2 separate regions of the Homo sapiens genome follow, and region 2 is linked to region 1. The links are contacts of gene promoters, found by promoter capture Hi-C in human tissues and cell types (Jung and others, 2019). All regions are on one chromosome and are shown on one strand. Each heading gives the region's core, a stretch centred on a gene start or on the middle of the fragment in contact. The rest is flanking DNA. Distances are from core to core; before and after follow the strand shown.

What was found. Contacts are between HindIII fragments. The study calls those that stand out against the background at their distance.
Region 2: a contact is called between a fragment that was not itself captured here and the fragment with the promoter of COL9A2 in region 1, in 2 of the 25 tissues and cell types used here (H1 embryonic stem cells and mesenchymal stem cells).

What each region holds. Positions count from the first base shown.
Region 1 is chr1:40,315,907-40,318,594 of GRCh38, reverse strand. It overlaps COL9A2 (collagen type IX alpha 2 chain), which reads left to right and starts at 1,309. Exons shown (of 32, transcript NM_001852.4): 1 at 1,309-1,472. The coding sequence starts at 1,398. RefSeq lists enhancers at 1,178-1,814, 1,815-2,451 and a silencer at 1,625-2,134. The HindIII fragment of the contact is 32,999 bases long and covers 1-2,688 here.
Region 2 is chr1:40,385,530-40,388,217 of GRCh38, reverse strand. All of the region lies in intron 1 of SMAP2 (small ArfGAP2), which reads right to left. Among named protein-coding and RNA genes, the nearest start is that of SMAP2, 13 kb to the right of the region's middle. RefSeq lists an enhancer at 2,204-2,473. The HindIII fragment of the contact is 3,706 bases long and covers 1-2,688 here.

The DNA.
Region 1 (2,688 bases), core at 60-2,559:
GGGCACGGTGGCTCATGCCTGTAATCCCAACACTTTGGGAGGCTGAGGCAGGCAGATCACCTGAAGTCAGGAGTTCAAGAGCAGTCTGGCCAACATGGCGAAACCCCATCTCTACTAAAAATATAAAAATTAGCCAGGCATTGTGGCTCATGCCTGTAATTCCAGCTACTCGAGAGGCTGAGGCAGGGGAATCATTTGAACCCGCGAGGCGAGGTTGCAGTTAGCTGACATCGTGCCACTGCACTCCAGAGCCTTTTAAGACTCTGTCTTAAAAAAAAAATATATATATATATATATATGGACTATTAGTATCCCCATTTTACAGATGAGGAAAATGAGACTTCATAGAGTTTGGGGTGCCTGTGGTCATATCTATAATTGTGAAAAAGTCAGATTCCAAAGCATTTTACCAATATTGCCTAAGTGAGTGGGAGGGAAGGGAAGGCTCTCTGGAGTCGGGCTATGCTGGACAGCGGGGTTCGGAAACTCTGGTGAATAAAGTGGTAGTTGTTTCTATGAACATGGAGTGAGAAGGCCCAATCCTAAACACACCAGTGCTTAAGGCAGCTGCAGAGAATTAAAGGCAATAGAAAAAGGGGAGCTGGATGGCAGGAGCTTGGATGGGGAAGACTTCAAGGGCAGGTGAAGATGCCAACAGCTTCCTGCCTGGAGGACCGAAGAAGGGTTGGGCTTCACTGCAGACCTCCAGGAGACAGATTTGCTTGTTGGGACAGAGTAGGGAGGTGAAAGCGAGGTGAGGAAGTTCGGGGGTGGGGGAGGTGCACACAGCTCCACTAAAGAGCTGGAAGAGGCCGATGGAGTATTCATGAGACGGCTGATCCAGGAAGGACTGTGGCATATTAATATGGAAAAGGCCTGTTTGTTTGTGCTTGGAGAGGAAGGAGCCAGAGGAGAGGGGAGCAAGGTGGGCGGGAGCTGGGGAGAGCCTGCAGCAAGATCTGCAGAGCCCGAGGTGCTCTCGGCCTGGGCCCTGGAGAGGACGTAGGGTAAGTGATGGGGCACAGGCTGTGCGTCAGGGGGAAGGTGCTGGGGCCTGAAGGTCCCGAGGGGAACCTCAGACGGCCTTATGCCTTCTCACAAAGAAACTGGACCATCATCTCCGACCCGCACCCCGGTCGCCCCTCGAGGACAGAGGGTGGGCGCAGGAGGCTGGACCGAGCGGGGCGGAGCTGGATGCCTGGCGCCGGCCTCCCTCCCGGCAACCCCGCCGGTCCTCTCAGGTGACAGCTCACGCCGGCCCCCGCCCCGCCCCCCGCATATTCAGGAGCCCCAGCCCACCCTGCCCGCGAACAGCCAGCGCTGGAGGAGCGCCGGGAGACTCTGCCGTCGGTGCGTGCGCGGACACGCACCCGTCCCCCTTGGTCTCGCCGCCAGCCATGGCCGCCGCTACGGCCTCCCCCCGCAGCCTCCTTGTTCTCCTCCAGGTGGTAGTGCTCGCTCTGGCGCAGATTGTAAGTTTCGCAGCCCCTCCGCTGCCAGGGTCCAGGGTGCGGGGTCTGGAGTCCGGGATGGAGGAGCTCTGCCTGTGTCCCGCGCCTACTGACACCCCTAGCCCGAGAGGCCACCTGAGGACAGCGCCGCGGGCAGGTCCCCTCGGTGGGTGCATACATGGTGCCCATCGCGGCACCGTGAATGGAGGTGGCTGAGCCGGAGAGTCAAACGGGACCCGTCCCCAGACGCGCGGCCCGGCCCGGGACAGGCAGCGTGGGGCAGGAGCTGGCGCCCGGTCCTGGCAGCCCGGGGAGCCCAGGTGGCGGGGCATACAATGGTGCTCATTCACCCGCTGCGCAGCCTCCGCCCCCGCCGCCTCCCAGGGGGCGCCGGCTCCAACCAGACGCCGCTGTCGCCCCGAGGCGGCCTCTCGGCCCTGCCCGCCTACCCACGTCTCCCTTCCGAGGGCCGCCGGGGGCTGCGGGCGCGCGGGTAGGGCAGAGACTGGGCCCGGTCGGGTGCTGGGTGTGGTTTCGAGCTCGCCTGCGGGGCGCCAGCCTGGCACTTCGCGGCCTGGGGAGGTCGTGGGCACCGGGACCCCTGCCTGGGTCCGAGCTGGCCTCTTAAAAGGGCCGCCTTTTAAGATCTCTGATCTGTTCAGAGATGGGCAGCAGGATGGAGACTCTCCAGCTGTGAGCTCGCCTCATCTTGATATGACTTGTGACCTCCCTGAAACCTCACACCCACCCAGGGGCATTGAATTGCAGGCAAACGGGATCCAGAGAGAGGGTCTGCTTTCTGGGAGGTGCCGGCTCCTCCTGCTCCCCTGCAGCAGTCAGGGCTTAGCAGAGGGAGGACCGGGCAGCTGTGCTGCCGAAGGGGCGCTCCGAGTGGGAAGATAGTACCCGCTTCACCTCCCTACACCTCCTTTCTCTGCGCCTCCCCCACTTTCCCGTCGGGTTTTCCCGCACCATGGGGAGAGGAGGAGGCGCTGTCTCTGCCTGTCGTTCACGTAAGAACAACAACCCGAGCCACCGCTCACTGAGGGCCGGCAGCCTGCTAGGCACAACCTTACATTCCATCTGTGATTTATTTGAGCTGTCCACGTCTCCATCTATTCCCCACCGCGACCGCGCAAGGGCAAACTGGCACAGTGGAAGGAGTCGGGCAGATCCAGGGCGGACTCCTGGCGCCGCCGCCCACTCTCAGTGACCATGGACCCTTCACGTTCTGAGC
Region 2 (2,688 bases), core at 79-2,578, 70 kb before region 1:
GGTGGTTGATGGGACCGGGTGCCGTGGAGCAGGGGGCGGTCTCGTTGGGGAGGCTCAGGCTGCACAGGAGCCCACAGAGGTGGGGGGAGGCTCAGGCATGGCGGGCTGCAGGTCCCGAGCCCTGCCCCGTGGGAAGGCAGCTAAGGCCCGGTGAGAAATCCAGCGCAGCGCCGGTGGGCCGGCACTGCTGGGGGACCCAGCACACCCTCTGCAGCCGCTGGCCCAGGTGCTAAGCCCCTCATTGCCCAGGGCCAGCAGGGCTGGCCGGCTGCTCCAAGTGCGGGGCCCGCCAAGCCCATGCCCACCCGGAACTCCAGCTGGCCCACAAGTGCGGCACACAGCCCCGGTTCCCGGAGCTGGCTCCCTCCACACCTCCCCGCAAGCCGAGGGAGCCAGCTCCGGCCTCGGCCAGCCCAGGAAGGGGCTCCCACAGTGCAGCAGTGGGCTGAAGGGCTCCTCAAGTGCGGCCAGAGTGGGTGCCAAGGCCGAGGAGGCACCGAGAGCGAGCGAGGGCTGTGAGGGCTGCCAGCACGCTGTCACCTCTCAATGTGAAAGTGCCGGCCCATCTTGCTGTGGTATGACCCATAAAGCTGTTCCTTATGTCCCTTATGTTCCTTAGGTCCCTTATGGGGAAACCAGGGTTCTCCCGAATTCCCCATTCCTTGCCTCAGCAGACATCTACTGCAATGAAGCAGTTCAGAATGATAATGCCCATAGCAAAGCCATCTCTACGTGGGCTCAACCCAGAGAATCCCCTTGGTAACTTTTTAAATTAGAGGGCCCACTTGACTACTCAAATCTGAACACATAAATAACCCATCACTCTAACAACAACACAAAAATTTATACTTCCTTATTTGTATTGTTAAAAAATTGAAAATTCAAATATTAACAATTGGGCAAGAGATAATAATGACATATTCCAATGCTGGGATACAATAAAGGTATTTACACGTTTTTAATGTCATGAAATAAGCTTATAATAAATGTTAAGCAAAAAAGAATGATATAAAATCATTATGGTATAAGCTCAAGTAAATGGGTGATAAGAATTATGAAAAATAAGGCCGGGCATGGTGGTTGATGCCTGTAATCCTGGCACTCCGGCAGGCCGAGGCAGGCAGATGATGTGAGCTCAGGAGTTCGAGACTAGCCTGGGCAACATGGCAAAACCCTGTCTGTACTAAAAATACAAAAATTAGCTGGACGTGGTGGTGTGCACCTGTAGTCCCAGCTACTATGAAGGCTGAGACAGAAGAACTGCTTAAGCCTGATAGAGGCTGCAGTGAGCTGAGATCGTGCCACTGTACTCCAGCTTGGGCGACGGAGCGAGAGACCTTGTCTCCAAAAAAAAAAAAAAAAAAGAATTATGAAAAATACCTTCAGCATCATTATATTTTTCATACTTTCCAATGATTTTTATCGTGGATAGGTTTCAGAATCATAAAAGATAAAGTTGTTGTTGTTTTAAAAAAAACCAGCATTTACTGATGTTTAGATTATAAGCACAGGGATCCTCCTATCTCCCCAGCTCCTAAAATCCCACAAGACAGAAAACAACTGGTCTGTTCCTATGGCAACAAATCTTTTTTTCCTTAAATGTATGAGAAGTCTAATGAAACTGGGACCTATTTTTACTCTGCCCGTAATATGGACCCTTGATCTGAGCCACTTGTGTCAGGCTACTTCTGTCGAGACTAGGCTCAGAACAAGTTAGAATGCTCAGGGAGCCAAGCCGGAGTCTTCCTGATTCCAATGTTTCATTTAATGAAGCTTCCTTTCTCTTTCATATAATCTGGGAATGTTAATACTGTAGTCACACTACAGGAAAGACCTTTCCTCAAGTTTCTCCTCCATCTGTAACGGTTCCTCTAACCGAACTCTTCATGCCTACTTTCAGAGAGACAAAGTCAATCCCTGTTCCAAACAGCTAATCTTTCAGTAAAAATGATTTCAACATAGCAGAAGAGCCTGAATCTCTTAATTCATTCTTTCTCAAATCAGCTGTCACACTCAAATTGGTTTCCGTCAGCTCTGCTGTTTTCAGCTATTTTGAACAAAAGCATCATGGTAAGAACAGGGAGTTTCCTTCCTGTTTCTCTTCTCAGGGTTTGTGTCAGTTATAAGGAGTGATAAAGTGTCAACAACAACAAAAAGACACCAATGCCCCCTTCTCTACAAGCTTTACACTACAGCATATGATGTCACCAGTTCACACAGAAAATTCTGTAAGAAATTATTTTTGAAGGCACAGAACAAAAACAACCACCTAAACAATATCAAGACAAAACTTCCTTAACTCAAAACTAGAAACACTAGAGAACTCATTTCTAAATCCACACATTTGGGGACTTCCAGTTAGACAAGAAAAGAGGAAGTTAAAGAACAAAATGTACTGTGTGCGCACTTCAGACCACTGAGGTGAAATAACATTGTAGGATTAACATGTAAACCCACATCTAAAGATGTAAGCTCTGTGGTAGAGGCCTGGGGATTTATGGTATTCCGTCACCAGCAACTGCTGCAAAAGACAGCATGGCTATTTGAAGAAAAGGAAAAGAAAAGGTGCTCTATTTGCTCAAATCACCATGCTAGGACACACTTATCAGCTACAGCTGAGAGTAGGTCTCTCTCCCTCTCGCATTTGCTTCACTGTTTCAATACATCATAAAATGAGAGCATTACACA